Regions from separate parts of the Homo sapiens genome. Here all the other regions are linked to region 1. The links are contacts of gene promoters, found by promoter capture Hi-C in human tissues and cell types (Jung and others, 2019). All regions are on one chromosome and are shown on one strand. The core of a region is centred on a gene start or on the middle of the fragment in contact, and the rest is flanking DNA. Distances in the headings are between cores, read along the strand shown.

The links. Contacts are between HindIII fragments. The study calls those that stand out against the background at their distance.
Region 2: a contact is called between a fragment that was not itself captured here and the fragment with the promoter of GALT in region 1, in 2 of the 25 tissues and cell types used here (H1 embryonic stem cells and liver).
Region 3: a fragment that was not itself captured here is called in contact with the fragment with the promoter of GALT in region 1 in 2 of the 25 tissues and cell types used here (dorsolateral prefrontal cortex and heart left ventricle).

The regions. Positions count from the first base shown.
Region 1 is chr9:34,644,612-34,647,924 of GRCh38, forward strand. It overlaps GALT (galactose-1-phosphate uridylyltransferase), which reads left to right and starts at 2,064. Exons shown (of 11, transcript NM_000155.4): 1 at 2,064-2,175; 2 at 2,478-2,647; 3 at 2,881-2,956; 4 at 3,046-3,094; 5 at 3,221-3,313. The coding sequence starts at 2,094. RefSeq lists a silencer at 301-595 and enhancers at 301-595, 1,809-1,918, 2,489-2,668. The HindIII fragment of the contact is 1,689 bases long and covers 811-2,499 here.
Region 2 is chr9:35,583,675-35,586,987 of GRCh38, forward strand. No RefSeq gene overlaps it. Among named protein-coding and RNA genes, the nearest start is that of TESK1, 20 kb to the right of the region's middle. The HindIII fragment of the contact is 5,243 bases long and covers 1-3,313 here.
Region 3 is chr9:33,914,460-33,917,772 of GRCh38, forward strand. It overlaps UBE2R2 (ubiquitin conjugating enzyme E2 R2), which reads left to right. Exons shown (of 5, transcript NM_017811.4): 5 at 2,559-3,313. The coding sequence ends at 2,778. Among named protein-coding and RNA genes, the nearest start is that of SNORD121B, 18 kb to the right of the region's middle. The HindIII fragment of the contact is 7,979 bases long and covers 1-3,313 here.

The DNA of each region.
Region 1 (3,313 bases), core at 814-3,313:
GACCTTGGGGAGTCATAGAGGAGAATTATGGAGATGTTCCTGAAGAGATGTTCCTGATGGGGGTCAGGATTTAATTAGCATGATTCAGGGGGCGGCACTGAAGCACTGGTGTTCTTGGGAAAATGGAGCTGTCTACAAGCTCTAGTCACTCAAACAAATATAAATGAGAGAATGGAAAAGCAGATCTCCTGTTCCTGTCTCACCTCTTTGGGTAATATGAACAGCCAGTGGGACAGGTAAAACCCCTGTTTCTCAGTCCTCAGCTCCCTGCCCCCTACCTCTGAAGGTAGCCTCTTCCTATTCCAGTCTGAGGACCCTAGGGCAGAGATCAAGTAAATGACCCATGACCTAGTTTTTGCAGCTCAATTGCAAAACACCTGGCTTGGCTTGGTCTTGATTGGGGGAAGGGATGTCCCTGCTATGGCTCAACTTCTAACTCACTGGGTCTCTGTCCTGCATTCCACTGAAGCCTCAGAGGCATCTCACAGCACTGGGAAAAGCCTTGGAAACTTGCATTCAAATCTCAGCTTGGCCACTAATTCTCTGGGTGACCTTGAGTCCTCTGGGCTCCAATGTGAAATGGGGAAGAGGTTTAGACAATATTTAGATGGCTCTTTAAAAGTACTGGGGGCCAGCTGTTTGGGAGGCTGAGGCAGGAGGATCACTTGAAGTCAGGAGTTCAAGACCAGCCTGGCCAACATGTGAAACCCCGTCTCTACTAAAAATACATAAATTAGCCCAGTGTGGTGGCACACAGCTCTAATTCCAGCTACTTGGAGGCTGAGGCAGGAGAATCGCTTGAACCTGGGAGGTGGAGGTTGCAGTGAGCCAAGATCACGCCACTGCACTCCAGCCTGGGTGGCAGAGTGAGACTCTCTCTCAAACAAACAAACAAACAAAAGTACCAGGGGAGGAATTAATTTGAATTTTATCCTAGTGTTAGCCAATTGGTCCCATCCAAGGAAAATTTAGAAAAGGGAAGGGGATGTGTAAAGGAAACACTAGGCCCCACCTAGATGGTGGCTGGAGCTTCTGATAGTCCTGTACTCTCCACATTTTTAGACTTTCTTGTACTTTTTTTTTTTTTTTTGTGACGGAGTCTGCTCTGTCGCCAGGCTAGAGTGCATGGGCACAATCTCGGCTCACTGCAACCTCTGCCTCCTGGGTTCAAGTGATTCTCCTGCCTCAGCCTCCCGAGTAGGTGGGACTACAGGTGCACGCCACCAAGACCAGCTAATTTTTTTTTTTTTTTTTTTTACTAGAGACGGGGTTTCACCATGTTGGCCAGGATGGTCTCAATTTCTTGACCTTGTGATCCGCCTGCCTTGGTCTCCCAAAGTGTTGGGATTACAGGCGTGAGCCACCGAGCCCGGCCATTTTTAGATTTTTTTTTATAGCCCTTTTACCCCTCCCACTTCTTGTGCTGTCTTGGTGTGTGTATGAAAAAGAGAGAGAGAGAGAGAGGAAGGAGAGCAAGAGTGAGAGAAAAAGAGAATATGGTTACTTAGCCCTTTTTCCCAAATCTGTTTTTGCTTTTGGGGATAGGATATGGTTATGGTGAAGTACTCCACACAGACCCCACCAAGTTTGCCTCTCCTGCGCTACAGCCACTGAGCAGGTGACTGAGGCGCTGTTGATCCAGGGTCATATCCTTACTCGCCCTAGAATGTAAGCTCAGGCAGGGCAGAGGCCATGCCTGACATGTGCATCCCAATGCTTTACACAGCCTAGGTGCCTAGCACATGCTAGATGCTTGGTAAATATTTGCTGAATGAAAGATCAAATGAATGATTGCAGCAAGCAAGTCCTGTAGGCATCCTGGAGCCCAAGGATTCTGCAGTAGGCAGCTTTCACAGAGGTTCTTCCAGTGTAGTGGCTCTAGCTCTGGGTGAAGTAGGATCATCAATGTCGGCCCCCAGGGTTCACAGCTGTTCTGAGCCCCGCCCCCAGGTGGCAGGGCAGCCCAGTCAGTCAGTCACGTGCTGGCGGCTGGCCAATCATCGGGGGCGGCGCGGGGAGGGGTGGTGTGGACGGAGAAAGTGAAAGGTGAGGCACGGCCCTGCAGATTTTCCAGCGGATCCCCCGGTGGCCTCATGTCGCGCAGTGGAACCGATCCTCAGCAACGCCAGCAGGCGTCAGAGGCGGACGCCGCAGCAGCAACCTTCCGGGCAAACGGTAACTGCACCGCGGCAGGGACTCGCTGGGGCGCGGAGCCGAGCCCTCCCCTTCCTTAGGAAGCTTTCGTCCCCTCCGAAGGTTGGAACGCTCATCCCGAGCCAGACCGACAAGGCGTACAGTCTGCAGGCCTGTACGAGCAGCAGGCCAATTGGCGCTGGGAAAGTCCAATCCTGGGCCTCTAGCTCCTGAGCGGGACAGGGCCGAGAGGGCGCTCCCGAGCTTGGGCCTGCTGGTGGGTGAGACCCAGGAGAGAGGGAGCTAGAGAGCTCTGAGGACTGATCTTGACTGTCTGCCCCCAGACCATCAGCATATCCGCTACAACCCGCTGCAGGATGAGTGGGTGCTGGTGTCAGCTCACCGCATGAAGCGGCCCTGGCAGGGTCAAGTGGAGCCCCAGCTTCTGAAGACAGTGCCCCGCCATGACCCTCTCAACCCTCTGTGTCCTGGGGCCATCCGAGCCAACGGAGAGGTAAGCCTGTAGAGCCCTGCATCTGCAGGCTGGGCCACGGGGAGTAGTTCCCTCTTAGAACTGTCCTCCACCCACAGGGATAGTGAACCTCCTTCTGGGTCATATCCCACCAAGCTTTTTGGTCCCCTAGGGTGGGCCTTCCCTACTCCCTTGTAGCCTGTCCAGTCTTTGAAGCCCACCAGGTAACTGGTGGTATGGGGCAGTGAGTGCTTCTAGCCTATCCTTGTCGGTAGGTGAATCCCCAGTACGATAGCACCTTCCTGTTTGACAACGACTTCCCAGCTCTGCAGCCTGATGCCCCCAGTCCAGGTAACCTGGCTCCAACTGCTGCTGGGGAGGAGGGTGGCTAGACCTCTTGAGGGACTTCTGCTGCAGAGAGTGATACTCCTTTACCTCAGGACCCAGTGATCATCCCCTTTTCCAAGCAAAGTCTGCTCGAGGAGTCTGGTAACTATGGATTTCCCCTCTTACAACTTTCAAACCAGAGTTGGAGACTCAGCATTGGGGTTCGGCCCTGCCCGTAGCACAGCCAAGCCCTACCTCTCGGTTATCTTTTCTCCCGTCACCACCCAGTAAGGTCATGTGCTTCCACCCCTGGTCGGATGTAACGCTGCCACTCATGTCGGTCCCTGAGATCCGGGCTGTTGTTGATGCATGGGCCTCAGT
Region 2 (3,313 bases), core at 465-2,964, 940 kb after region 1:
CAACAGGGGTCTGTGGACCCTTGCCAGCTGGGACAATAGGATTACTTCTAGACAGGTCTAGTTTAAATTTAAAAGGAGTGCAAGTACAAACAGGAGTCACTGATTCACATTACAATGGGGAAATTCACGTTGTTATATCTACTTCTGTTCCCTGGAAAGCAGAGCCAGGACAGCATATAACACAACTCCTGATTGTGCCATATGTAGAAATGGGGAAAAGTGAAATTAAATGAACAGGAGGATTTGGAAGCACAAATAAACAAGGCAAAGCAGTTTATTGGGTGAATCAAATTACTGATAAACATCCTACCTGTGAAATAACTATTCAGGGAAAGAAATTTAAAGGTTTGGTAGATACAGGAGTGGACGTTTCAATCATTTATCTACAGCACTGGCCGTCCACGTGGCCAATTCAACCCGCTCAATTTAACATAGTTGGAGTTGGTAAAGCCCCTGAAGTATATTAAAGTAGTTATATTTTGCATTGTGAAGGGCCCAATGGACAACCTGGACTATTCAACCAATTATAACTTCTGTACCTATAAATTTATTACAACAATGGGGAGCACAAGTTCTAATTCCAGAACAATTATACAGCCCTCAAAGTCAACATATGATGCATAAAATGGGGTATGTTCCTGGTACGGGACTAGGAAAAAATTTGCAAAGTTCGAAGGAACCGCTTCAAGCGGAAAGACAAATTTCCCACCAAGGTTTAAGATTATTATTTTTGATGGCGGCCATTTTTAAGCCTCCAGAACCTATACCTTTAAAATGGTTAATGAATAAGCCAATTTGGATAGAACAATGGCCACTGAGTAAAGAGAAACTGGAGGCTTTAGAGGACTTAGTTACTGAACAATTAGAAAAAGAACACATAGCTCCAACATTTTCCCCTTGGAATTCTCCAGTTTTCATAATTAAGAAAAAATCAGGTAAATGGAGAATGTTAACTGACTTAAGGGCCATTAATTCAATTATACAACCTATGGGGACATTACAGCCAGGACTGCCTTCTCCTGCTATGATTCCAAAAAACTGGTCTTTAATAGTCATAGATTTAAAAGACTGTTTCTTTACTATCCCCTTAGCTAAGCAAGACTGAATGGTTTGCATTTACAATTCTTGCAGTAAACAACCTGCAGCCTGCTAAGCATTTTCATTAGAAAGTGTTGCCTCAAGGCATGTTGAACAGTCCAACAATTTGCCAGACTTATGTAAGACAAGCAATTGAACCGACTCGTAAAAAATTTCCACAGTGTTACATTACTCATTGTATAGAAGATATAATTTGTGCTGCCCCCACTCGAGAAATATTACTCCAATGTTATGATCACTTGCAAAACTTGATTTTTCCTGCCAGTTTAATTATAGCCCCTGACAAATTTCAGACTACTACTCCTTACTCCTACTTGGGGACCTTAGTAAATGACACTACAATTGTGCCACAGAAAGTAACCATACGTAGAGATCAATTGAAAACATTAAATGACTTTCAAAAATGACTAAAGACCATTAATTGGACACAACCTGCTCTAGGCATTCCTACCTATGCCATGAGTAATCTATTTTCTATCCTTAGAGGAGATCTTAGTCTCACTAGCCCTCAACAATTAACAAAGGAGGCTGAGGCAGAGTTACAGCTGATTAAAAAGCAAGTCCATAAGGCCTACCCGGAAAAATCTCACTGCCTCTCCCCAGACTATTACTTGTTAGATGGAACTCTCCCCCACTTAATGGGTTCCACCTGAACCCCCTCACTGCTATTATGTGGACCTGGAAAGTTGGGTATCTATACTTCTAGTGCACTAATGATTCTATCTTTGGCACCCAGTGTTGTGTTAATGACACAAAAGCCAAGTTTCCTGCAATGCTCTGATCCAGCCTTAGTTGCCAAGTTCCCAATGCCACAGCAAAGTAAATGGGATAGAACTTGTAAGCAATGAGACCATCTATGGTTCCTTCCCCTGGATCAGAACATACAGGAGAAAAAAAAAAAGGAACACATGGGAGAAAAACAACTATTTAGTCTGGGAAGGTGGGAGTACCTCCTCCCCTTTTGGAAAACAAAGATTGTTCAACCACCCCAATTAGAACAGGGAAAAATATCTCTATAGACACAACTTGGCAGCAAAGGGTAGGCATCGCACCCCGTAGGGACCCTGTTTGTGCTCCAACTGGGCTTGTTTTTGTTTGTGGCCATGAGTGGGAAGAAGTCATGCCCTGTAACCACTCCTGACTCCCTGGGGAGTCACCTGTTCTTTTAAGAATAGCTTTCCCTTGTATATCAAAAACATGAAACAGAGGTGACTGTATGTTGGCCACCCTTTCCCCTCCAGGAGTCACACAGTCTATAACCCCGTAAGACCCAAGAACACCAGAAATAAATGAGCAATAGTGTTACTGGTTGAGGGTAGTTGTCCAGGTTCTTGGCGTTTTGAACAAATAATCAGACAAAACACACAAAGCAAGGCAGTAAAAGCAGAAACTTATTTTAAGTAAAAGCACACCCCATAGGGTAGGAGTGGGCTCAAGCAAGTGGCTCAAGAGCATCAGTTACAGAATTTTCTGGGGTTTAAATACCCTCTAGAGACCAGGCGTGGTGGCTCACACCTGTAATCTCAGCACTTTGGGAGGCCAAGGCGAGTGGATCACCTGAGGTCAGGAGTTCCAGACAAGCCTGACCAACATGGTAAAACCCCATCTCTACTAAAAATACAAAATTAGCTGGGTGTGGTGGTGCATGCCTGTAATCCCAGCTACTCGGGAGGCTGAGGCAGGAGAACTGCTTGAACCTGGGATGCAGAGGTTGCAGTGGGCCAAGATCACACCACTGAACTCCAGCCTGGGCAACAAGAGCAAACCTCCGTCTCAAAAACAAAATAACACAAAACAAAAAACTACAAGTTTGGAAAACATATTGGAGGGAATAATTGAGGAAAACTTCCCTGGCCTTGCTAGAGATCTAGACATCCAAATACAATAAGCTCAAGGAATACCTGGGAAATTCATCGCATGAAGACTATCACCTAGGCACATAGTCATCAGGTTATCTAAAGTCAAGACAAAGGAAAGAATCTTAAGAGCTGTGAGGCAATAGCATCAGGTAAACTATAAAGGAAAACCTATCAGATTAACAGCAGATTTCTCAGCAGAAACCCCTACAATCTAGAAGGGATTGGGGTCTTATTTTCAGTCTCCTTAAACAAAACAATTATCAGCCAAGAATTCTGTATCCAGCAAAACTAAGCTTCATAAATGAAGGAAAGATAGTCTCTTCCAGACAAACAAATGCTGAGAGAATTCGCCACTA
Region 3 (3,313 bases), core at 484-2,983, 730 kb before region 1:
TATGGTTCTTAATGTAAGAAGTGATGGGGTACCACTTAAATATTTTTGGGAGGGAAGAGGTGATGCTATTTGAGTTCTGATAAAAGAATTGGCTGCCTGGTGTGGTAGCTCACACCTGTAATCCCAACATTTTGAGGCGGGTGGATCACCTGAGGTCAAGAGTTCGAGACCAACCTGGCCAACATGGTGAAATCCCATCTCTACCAAAAAATATAAAAGTTAGTTGGGCATAGTGGCACACACCTGTAATCCCAGCTACTCGGGAGGCTGAAGGCAAGAGAATTGCTTGAACCCGGGAGGCAGAGGTTGCAGTGAGCTGAGATCGCGCCACTGCACTCCAGCCTGGGAAACAAAGCAAGACACCGTCTCAAAAGAAAAAAAAAAAAAAGACAGTCAGCTGGGCACAGTGGCTCACGCCTGTAATCCCAGGACTTTGGGAGGCCGAGGCGGGCAGATTGCTTGAGCCCAGGAGTTTGAGACAAGCCTGGGCAACATGGCAAAATACCATCTCTACAAAAAAATTAGCCAGGAGAGGTGGCTTATACCTGTAATCCCAGCTACTTGGGAGTCTGAGGTGGGAGGATTGCTTGAGCTCTGGAGCCAGAGGTTGCAATGAGCTGAGATTGCGTCACTGTGCTCTAGCCTGGGTGACAGTGGGAGACCTTGTCTCAAAAAAAAAAAAAAAATCAAATAGTTGGCCAGGGGACCAACATGGACTAAACTGAGGTAGTAGTAATGGGGATGAGGGGACAGATATAAAAATATTTAAGCTGTAAAGCAATAGGTCTTTGGAGTGAGATTTATTATTTTAAGAAGCAATGCTCATTTATTCAGAGAAGTAAAATGGGAGAAACTGTCCATAGAGGTAGAAAATGCATATGCAGTCTACCTCTGCATATGGAACATTAGGACAGAGGCTTCCAAAAGGCATTTGTTTATATAAGCCAAGAGCTGTCAGCATAAAGGGAGTGGTGGTTAAAATTATGGGAACAGAGATGATGTCCCAGGGAGAGTGCTGAGAGTGTGGAGATTGAAGCCCAGAAGCCTCAGGACCATCAATATTCAAAGCAAGGCAACAGAAGAAAAGCTTCAAGCACAACTAAGAGATTGACATTAGGAAGATCAGGAAGAGTGGTCTAGTCTTGATGACTCAAATTTTTATAATTGTTGAAGGAAACAATTTATTGTTTGTTCATTCATACAATCAGTATTTATTGCACACCTCTTATGTGCCAGGCTATGTGCTAGGCACTGACTGGGGAAATGGGACTAAGAAAGACATTTACGCTCACATTCAAATATGTGGAGACAGAAGAGTGAGCAAGCAAAAAATACTAGATAGTGCTAAGTAGGATAATGTGAAAGAATGACTAGATGGCTGCTTTAAATTGGGTTGTCAGGCCAGGCCTTCTCTAAGGTGATATTTAAGCCTTAATATCTGAGGCCGTGATTCTGAGTGACAGGAAGGAGCCAGGCATGTGTGGGGCAGGGGAAGAGCAACTGGTCCAGACAGAAAAATCAACAAGGTGTGTCCGAGATGCCAAAAAAAGACCAGGGTGAATGTGTTGAAGGGCTGGAGAAAATACAAGAGTGGGTCATGTGGCCGGGTGCAGTGGCTCATGCCTGTAATCCCAACACTTTGGGAAGCCGAGGTGGGCAGATCATGAGGCCAGGAGTTCGAGACCAGCCTGGCCAACATGGTGAAACCCCATCTCTACTAAAAATACAAAATTTAGCCCGGTGGGGTGGCGGGAGCCTGTAATCTCAGCTACTTGGGAGGCTGAGGCAGGAGAATTGCTTGAACCTGGGAGATGGAGGTTGCAGTGGGCCGAGATCACGCCGCTGCACTCCAGCCTGGGTGACAGAGCAAGACTCCGTCTTGGGTGGGGAAGAGTGGGTCGTGCAAGACACTGGAATCTGGCATAGGCATTTGAATTTTACTGTCAGTGAAAATTAAGAGGATAATTAAATTAAGAATTGTTGGGGCACTTGAGTTTGGTGGTGAGGTGACTAGGCCAAAACCCTAGCCAATCCCCTAAGCACCCCACCCCACATTAAACCAGAGTGGGACGTTTTATTCACATATGCAACCTTTATGATCTAGCCCCAAGAAACTAGGAGGCGTATTAGCCCTTCTATTATCTATTCTTATTCTGGCAGTTATCCCTGTGCTTCACACATGCAAACAACAAAGCATGACATTCCGCCCACTAAGTCAATACCTGTTCTGATTCTTAAGTCGCCGACCTATTGGCCCTTACATGAATCGGAGGACAGCCAGTTGACGAGGTGATTCTGGCTATAATTGATCCACTGCTTTAAACTCCCTTGATATTAACAGTGTATTTCCCCTCCTAAAAAGTCAAAGTTTACTTCAAAATTGTACCCAGTGGGTTGAAAGCATTTGGTGTAGTACAGGGTATCTGTCAGATGCTTTCAGGCAGGTACTGAAGTTTGGAGAGCTGAGTCATAAGTAATATTGATTATTTAAGGCCAATTATAAATCTGTCTTAAAAAAAGACTTACCGTAAACCATTTCTGTGTCAACCTCCCTTCAGGAAACAAGTTTCAGCCACTAAGGCCGAAGCAGAAAAGGATGGAGTGAAGGTCCCCACAACCCTGGCGGAATACTGCATCAAAACTAAAGTGCCTTCCAATGACAACAGCTCAGATTTGCTTTACGACGACTTGTATGATGACGACATTGATGATGAAGATGAGGAGGAGGAAGATGCCGACTGTTATGATGATGATGATTCTGGGAATGAGGAGTCGTGACGTGCTCCTTCAGTGCCCCTGTACTGCCCTGCCATCTCAGGCCAAAGGGAGGGGAGCAAGTGGGGACCTGGCCATGGCCCCTCAGCAAAAACCTATTCACAGCGGGTGGGGAAACACACACAGCTCCTGCTGACTCCCCTTATGGATCTCAGTTTGCTCCTTTTTATGGACCTTTAATGGAGAGAGAGTAACCCTCCACAGAATGTCTGAATTCTTGCATTCTTTACCCTTCCATCACTATATTGATTCTTTTTTTAAAAAATATGAACCCAAACTCCCGCCTCACTTCGTCTCTACAGAATGTTCACAGCAAAACACGTTTGGTCTGTTTTTAGATTCTTGAAGAATTCAATAGTCTTTCAAGATGTTTAATGTGTTTAAAGCTGGGAACCTGTTGGGAGTTCACAAGTGCTGCATATACTGGGTAGCAAAAGAAAATGGAAAAAAACCCACAAAACAAACTTTAAAAAAAAAAAAAAACAAATTTGCCAAGGTTTAGCTGCTCATTTACATTAGTGTGTGTGCATTCGTTCAG